2 separate regions of the Homo sapiens genome follow, and region 1 is linked to region 2. Evidence: promoter capture Hi-C in 16 types of primary human blood cells and fetal thymus (Javierre and others, 2016). All regions are on one chromosome and are shown on one strand. Each heading gives the region's core, a stretch centred on a gene start or on the middle of the fragment in contact. The rest is flanking DNA. Distances are from core to core; before and after follow the strand shown.

Region 1 (2,700 bases), core at 136-2,635, 510 kb after region 2:
TGTTGAGTACCCATTGCACACTCTTTTTTTGAAACTGGTTTGAAACATGGTTTGAGTAGTTTTTTTCTTAATGTCTCTTCCAGATTAGGGTTTCCATCTTCTGTTTTGCTGTTTTGAGACCACAGATTGTTCCCGCAATAACAGTGAGAGAAGCCTATTCCTCCTGGTCCCTAGCAAATATTTATAGAAAAGCAGTAACTCCTCTCTTTTTCTGAGTGGTATATATTATATAGACGTGATTAAGTTTTTTAGTTTCTTAGATAAATAGGAGGATTTCTCTTTTTGCTTTTGTGTCTCAGAATTGAGGTGAATCTTCTTGGTTTTGTGCTGCCGAGGACAAAACTGGGAAGTTTCTCATGCTTTCATTAGATTTTTTTTGGATGAGGCTAGAACGTGTTTATTTTGGCTCTTTTTTGTTCATTAGTTTGGGTAAAATAAAAAAACTTAATGTTTCAAAGTCACTTACTAGATTCCAAAGTGGCCTGCATTCTCACTTTTTCACATTGTACATTCTTTGAGTATATTTTTGACATTTTTTTCCTTTTATCTGGTACAGTTCGTATATTCCCTTTCCTTCTATGTAGAATGAAAATATTTAAATATAGATTTTAGATTATATTTTTTCATTATGCTAAGTATGGGTGGGGCAGTGGAAAATGGAGAATGTTGTTCTGATACATACTGAGGCTTTTTGTTTTTTTTTGGTAAGTCAGCATTTGTGTACTTCTGTAAAGTACCGAGTTATCTATGTGTGAAGTCTGTATGAAGAGACGAATAAGATACGTGGTCTCTTGGAAAGCTTCAACTTATATCGAAAGAACAGAGTTTCTTTTTCTGTTCGGGAAACATGTACATCATTCAGAATTATCAAACTGCATCAAACTTCTCCTTGGGATAACAGTACAACCAAGGTCAAAAGTGTAAGGGACATTTGAGAAAGATACAAATTTCCAAAGGGAAAGAGGTGTATTTCAGGAGAGTGAAGGGGCCTGTGCAAAGCGAGAGAAGTGGCAATGTACAAATGATATCAAGGAGCTTGACTGTCAGATCATCTGTGTTGGTGAATAATAATAAATGAGTTTAGGATTGGTGAGGGGGTATTGATGGAGGATCTTTCAAGGATAGAGGGTTTAGTTTGATAGGGTACCACAATGGGTTCTAAAGAATGAGAGTAAGATGATGCATCTTGTTCCTGAGGAAGGTTTTTGTTTCAGCTGAGTGTCCTGGGAGTGGAGAGACTGATTAGAGTGCTTATGGAGAATTTTAGGAATAAGCTGATGAGGGTCTGATATAAGATAGTGGTTGTAGGAATAAAATAATAGCTAACATTTACTTACTGTATGACAGGTATTCTAAGCGCCTACGTTTGTTTAATTCATTAAATCTTCATAATAAGGTATTAAAATCAGAAGGGACTTTGGGCAAGTTGCTTAACCTTATGCATGTAATTATTCCCATATACAATGAACGGTTAGATGAAAGGTAGATTTTGCACTGACCAGGGATATAGATGCTAGTAAAACACATCAGTAGATGTGTGTTGGGAGGGTAGTAGTATAATGAAGAAAGAGCTTTGAGGTTTGGAATTTTGGGTCTTGAAATAGGCTAATAGCATTCTGAGAAGAACCAGAAAGTGCATCATTTCCAGGATAGGAAGATTTTCTACAAGGGCAGGGTGTTGACAGTTTCAAATGCGGTGTAGAAGTTCAGAAACAGTGACTACAATGAAAAGACAATTGAATTAAAGCAGAAGAGATAATTTGTAAACTTAGAGAGAAAATTGAAAGGAGGGGTAAGAATAGATGCCAGATTTGTTTTTCACAGGATTTGTAGAGACATTAGTATCTGATATGGTAATTATTAGTATTTCCTTAAAAAAAGAAACAAACTTATGTTCCAAAGCCAGTGATTTTATACTTTAACGCTTCTCTCCTTAAACTTTTATTCTTTTTTTTTTTTAAAAAAGCTTTCTTGAAGTATAATTCACATACCATTTCATTCACACATTTAAAGTATACAAGTCAGTGGTTTTTAGTGTATTCACAGAGTTGTGCAACCATCACCACAGTCATTTTTAGGACAGCATTTCAAAAAAAAGCCTTGTACCCATTGGCAGTCACTCCCCGTACCCTCACCTCCAGGCAGCCACTAATGTACTTACAATCTTGTAGAGATGTTGATAATTCCAAATGCCTGTTGTGGGCATTTCATACAACATACGGTCTTTTGTGTCTGACTTCTTTCACTTGCATATGTTTCAAGGCCCATCCATGTAGCATGTATCAGTATTTCATTCCTTTTTATTGCCAAATAATATTCCACTGTATGTATATACTACGTTGATAGCCATTGCTTTAGTTGATGGACATTTGAGTTTCTTATTCTTTCATTATTATTATTATTATTTGAGACAGAGTTTCTCTCTGTCGCCTAGGCTGGAGTGCAGTGGCGCCATCTCGGCTCGCTGCAACCTCTGCCTCCCAGGTTCAAGCGATTCTCCCACCTCACCCTCCACAGTAGCTGGGATTACAGGCGTGCACCACCATGCCCCGCTAATTTCTGCGTTTTTAGTGGAGACGAGGTTTCACCATGTTGGCCAGGCTGGTCTTTGAACTCCTGACCTCAAGTGGTCTGCCTGCCTCGGCCTCCCAAAGTGCTGAGACTACAGGTGTAAGCCACCGCGCCTGGTCAAGTTTCTTA
Region 2 (2,700 bases), core at 132-2,631:
AGCAAGTAAGTGGCAGAACTGGGGCCTATGCCCATCACTTCAAAGTCAGTGCTTTTAACCATTATACTATTACTGAAGGAAAAAAGGAGAGAAGACGGGAAGGAAGGAAATAAAAACAGTACCACTGAAGTTCACATGATACAGATGTATCTCCCTGATGAAATCAGGGCTGAGAAGTTTCAAGGAGGAGTAGGTATTTGACCTAAGGTTTGCAGGATGGGTAAGACTGGGACTTGCAGAGATAAAGAGGCAACTACCTACTGAGAAGACAGTGCAGCTGAAGTACAGAGGCACTTTCATATCACACTGCAGAGATCTGGGGGGAAAAGGGGTCTATTGGGCTTTGTCTTCCTGGTGGCTCAGCTGCACAGAGAGAAGCAACGGTGGAAGGGGCTGAGAAGTGGAGGAGGGGCCAGGTCTAAGAAGTTAAGAGCCAAGAAGATGGGGCTAGTGATCACAGATGATGAAGGTGAAGCGCCTAGGTTAAAGGCAAGGGGCCAAGCCATAGTGCGGTATGGAGGTCCGAAGTTACAGGTCTTTGGGGCCAAGTCAAGGGCTGCAGGGAGGAAGAGGAGAGAGGAGCTATGAAAGACCAAGAGCAAGGTGCTAACAGGGTAATTGTACAGGGAAGCTAGATAACGGGTCAGAGATACAGGAGGACCAAGGAAGTCAGAGGGTCGCAGGAGACGGTCAGGGAAGAGGAAGCAAAGGCTGCCAGAAGTGTCACAGGCCAGGGCCCAAGAGCTGAGTTGTGTGTTGCGGGGCGGGGAGAAGCCAATGGCGGAGGTCCAAGGGTACAAGAGCTGGTTTCAGAGATTGCCGGCGGGCTTGGGGCCAGAGAGGTGGGAGAGGAGGAGGGGCTGATCCTAAACGTATGGTCAGCGGCAGGAAGGCTGTATACTCAAACCCAACAGAAGGGCCGGGGAATGGGTTGGGGACAGCCACCTGGCTGCGTGGGCCGGGGGCCAGGGCGAGGGTCGCGGCGGAGGGACCACAAGGCCCCTTGGCTTCCCACTCGGTCCAGGGAGCAAAGCAGCAGCATCCAGATCCTCGGTGAGAGGGAAGTGGCCGTGTACAGAGTTTCCCGCGAAGTCGTGTCCGCCTCCCCCCGCGACCTCGGGCCCAACCCGGACCCACCTCGCTCCCGCCGCTCGATCAGGGACAGCGCCGCCTCTGTAGGCGAGGGAAGGAGCTGGAGCCGGAGCCGGAACCCAGGAAGGATCCGCCCTACTACTCCAGGATTGGTTTCTTGGGATAATTCTTTATTTCCATTGGCTACCATGACTGCCACAACGCAAGCGACCTGGCAGGACCACCAATAAGCTTTGACCGCTGGCGTGGCATGCTGGGAGTTGTAGTCCTAAGGAAGCGCGTAGACTCAGAGAAAACTTGCGAAGTTTAGGATGGAGCTGAAGAGACTGGGTTCCGTCCTACGGTGGGATTTCTTTCCGTGCTCGCGCGTTCAGCCCCAAGTCTCAGGGCCACTCGTCTGGGAAGTTGTAGAATCTGTATAGCCAACCTACACAACCTCCAAGGGGGCAAGTACTCAAATTTCCTTCTTTACTTTGAGTTGGTAATCCTTGACCGTCCTGTAGACGTCCAACGAAGCCTAGAGTCTGGCACCTCACTCAAGGTTTATAACTTAAAATCAAAGGAGGGTAGAGCTGGAAGGGAGTTTAAAGATAAAATAACCCAATCTCCTTATCGGAGAAGCTAAAAGTACCCTGTTCAAGGATCAACCTCCAGGTCTTCCAGCCCCCCTGAGCAGGGATTTTCCCGGGTTCCGCGTGCATCCCTAATTAAGCCTGACACGTGTTCGTCAATCCAGACACAACAAGATCACCAAAGTATCCAGGACTAGGTCTTTTTTTTCAGGTTTTATTTTTTAAAATAATAAAAGGCTAATGAAATACGTAAACTACAGGCTTCTCGTATCTGCACAATGTTTCAGTGCAAAGAACAAGGAGCATTGCCTTCAGAGCTAGATAAACCAAGTATAAAACTCTGGCTCTACCACCTAGCCATTTGGAGTACCAACTCCCTCCCCCATAAAATCCCTGGCAGAATTACTGTGAGGATATTATATATACATACATATATTCTCATGCATGTGTATGTGTATACATATATACATATATATGTATGTATGTTTTATATAGTTGTAAGGTTATAATACATACATATATTGAGGTTATTTCTTGATGACATTAATATTCAAATCAGTAGACTGATATGTATGTACATATATACATGTATAATACACATACATGTGTATATACATATACTAATGTATACATGTGTATATACATGCATACATGTGTGAATATGTATTATACATACATATGTATATATGTGTATACATATACACGTGCATACATGCTAAATACATATACATATATATACACCTATGTAGTACAGATATGTATATACACATACATGTATACATGTGTATATGTGTATGTATGCATATGTGTGTGTATATTATATGTATATTCATGTATGTATGTGTATATGTATGCATGTATTCTGCCTCCACAAGCTGACAATGTGAGTTAGTTTTAAGATTGGGATATTCAGGAATGCATGTTTGGAACTGAATATGGTTGAGTGAAATATGTGTGCCTTATGAACACTATTTGTTTATAAATTGATAAAATAAAATACTAGAGAGCAGACTCAGGAATAAAACTATGGCTTTAG

Evidence for each region. Contacts are between HindIII fragments. The CHiCAGO score rates a contact against its expected background, and 5 or more counts as called.
Region 1: a fragment that was not itself captured here is called in contact with the fragment with the promoter of ZNF691-DT in region 2 in 1 of 17 cell types (monocytes); the score reaches 5.1 in monocytes.

The regions. Positions count from the first base shown.
Region 1 is chr1:42,331,089-42,333,788 of GRCh38, reverse strand. The region is part of intron 1 of FOXJ3 (forkhead box J3); the gene reads left to right. Among named protein-coding and RNA genes, the nearest start is that of FOXJ3, 2.8 kb to the left of the region's middle. The HindIII fragment of the contact is 1,167 bases long and covers 802-1,968 here.
Region 2 is chr1:42,845,095-42,847,794 of GRCh38, reverse strand. It overlaps ZNF691-DT (ZNF691 divergent transcript), which reads left to right and starts at 1,381. Exons shown (of 5, transcript NR_186083.1): 1 at 1,381-1,538. ZNF691 (zinc finger protein 691) reads right to left here and starts at 1,182. Exons shown (of 4, transcript NM_001242739.2): 1 at 1,138-1,182. RefSeq lists enhancers at 1,146-1,215, 1,376-1,645. The HindIII fragment of the contact is 2,341 bases long and covers 1,326-2,700 here.